2 separate regions of the Homo sapiens genome follow, and region 2 is linked to region 1. Evidence: promoter capture Hi-C in human tissues and cell types (Jung and others, 2019). All regions are on one chromosome and are shown on one strand. Each heading gives the region's core, a stretch centred on a gene start or on the middle of the fragment in contact. The rest is flanking DNA. Distances are from core to core; before and after follow the strand shown.

What was found. Contacts are between HindIII fragments. The study calls those that stand out against the background at their distance.
Region 2: a fragment that was not itself captured here is called in contact with the fragment with the promoter of ZNF99 in region 1 in 2 of the 25 tissues and cell types used here (dorsolateral prefrontal cortex and stomach).

Annotation. Positions count from the first base shown.
Region 1 is chr19:22,782,598-22,785,656 of GRCh38, reverse strand. It overlaps ZNF99 (zinc finger protein 99), which reads left to right and starts at 1,506. Exons shown (of 4, transcript NM_001080409.3): 1 at 1,506-1,643. The coding sequence starts at 1,641. The HindIII fragment of the contact is 12,356 bases long and covers 1-3,059 here.
Region 2 is chr19:22,300,234-22,303,292 of GRCh38, reverse strand. The region is part of intron 1 of ZNF729 (zinc finger protein 729); the gene reads right to left. Among named protein-coding and RNA genes, the nearest start is that of ZNF729, 15 kb to the right of the region's middle. The HindIII fragment of the contact is 4,203 bases long and covers 1-3,059 here.

The DNA.
Region 1 (3,059 bases), core at 257-2,756:
TAGGTACTGATTTTTCCCCTGATATAAAGTTGGAGGCCTCGTAAGAGAATGCTGAGTAATGCAGAAATATATGTGGACATGTATGCATGTAATTGGTGCCTATACTCACACAGTCCCCCATACCACAGGAGAAAACAGATAACCACAGCCTGACCATTAGGGCCAAGGACAAATAGAAAAGTAAGTTTTCCTTTAATCTATTTTCTTCATATCTAAACATTGGAGGTCAAGACTGTGCACAGATTTGAAGACACAGAGATTTCTTCTCCTGTGGCCTTACCATCCTTAGTTCACCTTCTGATCTCTGGAATAAAGGTAGGCAACAGGTGGCCAGCAGTGGTCTACCTGTGGTTGTTTTTTCCTGCTGTCCTGTGCTTTATTTATGGCTACTATCTGTTCCTCCCTCAGAGCTGAAGAGAGATGTTGGTAGGGAAAGGCTCTTTTTCCATCTTTGGCAGAAAAGGTTTGTTCAGGCCCTTCCCTCTCCTAAGGTCAGAGCTGCACTTCAATGTGGCAGCTACTGGCCATGTGTGGCGACTGAGTGCCTGGAATGTGGCTGGTCTGAACTGTGATGTGCTGGAAAGGTAAAATACAGAGTTAGTTTCAAAGATGAAGTTCCAAAAAATATCTACACTTCATTTATAATTTACATTTTGCTTACGTATTAAGATGATATTTTGGATATATTGGGTTAATTAAATTGCTACAATAAATTCCACCTGTTTTTTTTTTTTTTAATTTTTAAAGTTTGGCTACTAGAAAATTTAAAATACAATTTTATTTCAGAGGATTGCCTTCTTTTTAAAACCTCAGGCAATCTGATGAAAAAACCAGAAGCCAGGAAGGTCATAAACTCTGAAAATTTTAGATAATTGTTATATTCTTTTCATTTGTGAATAACCATATAATATATTATTTATAAAAGAATGTGACCTTATACAAAAGGTTAAATGCAAATACCCTCTGGGGTTGGCCTGGCTCAGTTCAGGAAGGAAGCCCTGCCTGAAAAGGCTGCAGCCTAGACTGTCATCCTTTCCTTTCTTTTTCTTTTCTTTTCTTTTTTTCGTGACAGAATCTCGCTCTGTCATCCAGGCTGGAGTGCACTGGCGCGATCTCGGCTCACTGCAACCTCCGCCTCCTGAGTTTAAGCAATTCTCGTGCCTCAGCCTCCGGAGTAGCTGGGATTACAGGCGCCCGCCACCACACCAGCCTAATTTTTATTTTTAGTAGAGACCGGGTTTTGCCATGTTGGCCAGGCTGGTCTCCAACTCCTGACCTCTGGTGATTCACCCGCCTCGGCCACCCAAAGTGCTGGGATTACACGCGTGAGCCACCGCGCCCGGCCCGTCACTCTTCATTCAGCTCAGCATCAGATCACATCTTCTGTCACTCAGGGCCTGAGGAGGCGGGGATTTAAACATTATCCAATCAGGGACTCTGGGCTGGGAACCGTCCAATCAGGCACTCAGCTGGAGCGGAAAGGGCGGCTTGTGGGATGTGGCGGGGCCGTTGTTTCTGGTTCCAGCTGGAGCTCCGGATCTCGTTTTTACTGCTCTGTGTCCTTAGCCTCTGTGGCCCTGTGACCTGTAGGTATTTGGAGATCCACAGCTAGGACGCCAGGACCCCCTGGAAGCTTAGAAATGGTGAGAGTGCCGGGTCCGATATCCTGAGAAGGGGAAGGGGCTGACTGGAACCGGTGGAAAGTGGCTGTGGCGGGACTCAGGCCTCCCCTCAGTGAGCTCCACAGTCTGCGCCCCGAGCTCTTGCCCAGCTCGGCCTCAGTCTCCTTCAGCCATAAGATGGCGGCTGCGCTGACTGCGGGACCCCGGGCGACCTGCCTCCTTCCTGCACTGTGACTATGCCCTGGCCTGGAGCCCTCTCTGGGCCGCTCTTCACCCGCAGCGCCTCCTCTCTCACAGATTGTGCAGGGACCACGGGAGGGGCGTCAGGGGAGAATCCTGACTCCGGGTGCGGGTTCATGAATGGGAAGAGCTTTGGTCCAGTGAGGTTTCCAGTCCCTCTTTTCTCCTATTAAAAATTGATGGCAGTCATCACTAAAGTAATAAAGGATTTAATCAAAGAGTGATTCAAAAATGGCAGAGCACCCAGCTGTGGTTTGTAGTTTATGGTCTATGGAAGGGATTTGACGGAAAGAGTTTTATAAGGTGCATAATGAAGAAAACCAAATTCAGTAATGGGTTATGTACAGTTACGTAGATTCTTAATTTGTACAATCAAGATGGAAATTTCCCGTTTATATAATCAGAGGTTAATTGTAGTTTATAGTTGGTTAAGCCTGAATTTTGTTTCCCCCAATGTAGTAATTTACAAAAAAAAAAGCACTTGAATTATTAATATTTTTTTCTTTCTTTTTTTGAAACGGAGTTTTGTTCTTGTTGCCCAGGCTGGAGTGCAGTGGCGCGATCTCGGCTCAACGCAACTTCCGCCTCCCAGGTTCAAGCGATTCTCCTGCCTCAGCCTCCCGAGTAGCTGGGATTACAGGCATCCGCCACCACACCCGGCTAATTTTTGTGTTTTTAGTAGAGACGAGGTTTCTCCGTTTTGGTCAGGCTGGTCTCGAACTCCCGACGTCAGGTGATCTGCCCTCCTCCGCCTCCCAGAGTGCTGGGATCACAGACATGAGCCACCGCGTCCGGCCGAATTAGATTTTTTAAAAAGTAGATTATCAGGCCTGGCTCGGTGGCTTACACCTGTAATCCCAGCACTTTGGGAGGCCGAGGCGGGTGAATCACGAAGTCAGGAGTTCTAGACCAGCCTGGCTAACATGGTAAAACTCCGTCTCTAATAAAAATACAAAAATTAGCCGGGAGTGTGGCAGATGCCTGTAATCCCAGTTTCTCGGGAGGCTGAGGCAGATAATCGCTTGAACCCGGGAGGCAGAGGTTGCTGTGAGCTGAGATTGCGCCACTGCACACCAGCCTGGGCAAGAGAGGGAGACTCCCTCTCATATTAAAAAAAAAAAAAAAAAAAAAAAGGCCAGGTGCGGTGGTTCATGCCTGTAATCCCAGCACTTTGGGAAGCCGAGGCAGGCGGATCAC
Region 2 (3,059 bases), core at 225-2,724, 480 kb after region 1:
ACCAGTGATGCCTGTTTTTGGCCCAAAAAAGAATCTTTTGTCAAACATTCAGCAAGTGGGGGAACCTGTGTTTTTCCCAGTTTTTCTGGCCTGTAAACAAAGATGAGAGACTTCATTTTCCAAAGATAGATATATGCAAAGAAAATCTAAGAAAGAAAGGCAGGTGCCAGATTAAATGTGATCACTGGTGCACATCAGCTGCATAAAGATACTTAAAAGGCCAGGCGCAGTAGCTCACTCCTGTAATCCCAGCACTTTGGGAGGCTGAGGTGGGTGGATCATCTGAGGTCAGGAGCTCAAGACCAGCCTGGCCAACATGGTGAAACCCCATCTCTAATAATAGTACAAAAATTAGCCAGGCATGGTGGCACGCTATTCTGGAGGCTGAGGCAGGAGAATCACTTGAACTCAGGAGGTGGAGGTTGCAGTGAGCTGAGATTGCGCCACTGCACTCCCGCTCTAGAAATGAAGCAGGATTCCCCAGCCAAAACTCTAATCTCTTTTATCCAGTTCTGTGAGGTAAGACTCCAGGGTGGGACCTGACCTAAATAAGGCCTCCAAAAACAGTGGATCTAAACAGAACTTGGCCAGGGAGTGGACCCTATGTAGAATTCTGTTCTCTATGCTACTGGGAGTGCTTCCAGTTTTGTTTTTCCTAAGCTTACCTAAGATGCACTTAAATCCCAGAATCTGTGTAATTTAAATATTTTTTTAGACAGTGCCCAATTTTATGACATATACTAATAAGCAATTTAAACCAGTCTTTTATGGTTCCTAGGGTAATTTTATTAAAATATACATATGTATTCTACCAAGGTAAAATAAATAGAAATAAACATAAACATCCCTTCAAGTGATGACATCAGAAGTCAGAAGAATATAAAGTAGTCCAAATAAAGCCCAAGCGTTTCTGCACACATCTGTTTATTGTACCAATGATATGATGACGTTTAATTCAACCATGTACCCAGTTGCTAGTCTAGACTATAAGTTCCTGGGTGGTAGGGACCATGACTCCCTCATCTATTTTTTTAATGGCCACATGAAATGGAAGCTATTAGTTTACCTGTTTGAGTCTCAGGACCTCCTTCTTGTTTTTCACCCAAGTACCAAGAAACTGGAGAAACTCTTGTCTGGGTACCAACTAAAGGTATCTCTTGTATGAGGGGAGGAACAAACACAGGATGACTCATTTCTCTTATACTGAGACAGAAGCAGAATTAACCACTTTTGTCAGCTTGACACAGTTCTGCTCTGGACATCCTCAAATGTCTCAAAGATGCCTAGGTGATTGTGAGAGGGTTTCCAGTGACTCTGGGCTAATGACCCAATGATGAGCCAGGCAGAAGAGACTCAGGCTGGTTATAAATAGAAAATGGAACCGCCCTGGTTAAGCTCCAGAATCTAGATCACCTCTTCTGATTTGCTAGCTCTTGGGTAAGAGAAATAACAATACTCTACTCCAGTATCACATTTTACAGGTAGGTATAGTTGTAGTCATGGCTCTGGTTACTCTGTGGCCTTGATCTCTCACTCCTAAGATGCCTGTTTATACTTACAGATTCTGTCATCAGATTTTATTTATACCTGGAGTCTCTCACATACCTGTAACAGGTCACTGGAAAAGATCTGAAAATCTCACAGAGCCACAGTCTCAAAGAAAAGATTTAAGATCTCTACGTTGACATCTCACAATACAGAAAATGTCTTCTGCTGGTTTTCTGCATACTCTCAATTCAAAGTTTGGCCCTGTCTTGTAAATCTTAGGCAGAGGCCAGATCTTATGTGCAGATTCCAGGTGGGATCAACCAGACTCTGCCTCCTTGGGTGTTACAGCAAACAGAGTACAATCAAAGGAGAGATCTCATCATAGACACTACTCTGGCACATTCTAAATATGTCTACCTAAAACGAAAAAGCTGAGAAAATATAGATTTAAGTTGACAGTTTATTTGGGCCAAGCTTGAGGACTGTAACCTGGGAGCAAATATTCAAGTTGCCCGCAACATACACTTGATTAGCAGTGTGATTACAAGTTGATTTGTAAAGGCTAAAAAAGATGGACAGAGAGTGGGTTGATACAAAGTTGTTTGTCAGAAATTTTTATTATTTACAGGAATAACATTGATTATTGATTGGATATACACCATTAAGTTTTACGGTACAAGTTATAGTGTCCAGTGTGCATTATTAATATATAGCTACTTGTGGCAATAGCAAACAGCTTCAAAAGATGAATACATAGTTCAAAAAACAAAAAGAGAAACATAATTCTGCTCTCATTTTAATGTCTCTATAAGTTGGACAACCAAAAGGACTTGCATCTCTCAGAAAGAAAGTTTTTCTTTTTTCTCAAATCTGAAGACCTGGATTCAGAATTTGAAGTTGCAGTTTTAGGTTCTGAATGGATGGGATAGCAGCAGGTTTTCCCTGCACATTTGTGGGCATTTTAGCAAGATGAAGAAAAAGGAAGTACAGATTCCCAAGTGTACATGTCTACTCAATGCACATATGTTACTCTGATTGGGTTTCTGGGCCCCATAGTCTGTGAATCAGTTTCAGTTCGGAAGATACAAGAGTCACTGAAAAACATAAAATGGTTGATTGCTGCCCTGTGAAGTTTGTAGAATTCTGATCTAGCTTCTCTAAAAGTTACTGTGGAGGATTAAAGATACCAAATTGGCAGAGAAGCAATTCTGCCTGCATATTTAGGGGACAGTATGCACTTTGCAGCACAATTGTGAATTGACTGATAGCCTGAGAGGGAAAGTTTCCTCTAGAGTAAAGCTTGGGTGGCACCTTATATTTATATATCATGTCTGATAATTCTAGACAGTTTTTGTGAAACATAATTAAAAGATAAATTTTCTTCAGCCCCAGAGAAACTCCACAATAGAACAGACATAAAACTGTTTTATTACACAATTAAACCTGAATGTGACATGCATCACAGTCAATCTGCTTAAGAGACTGAAAAGATAGAAAGACAGTAACCGTAATTAGTTCACAAGTAGAAAAATGTATAGCACCATGTCATACACAGTTCATCCTAAATTCAC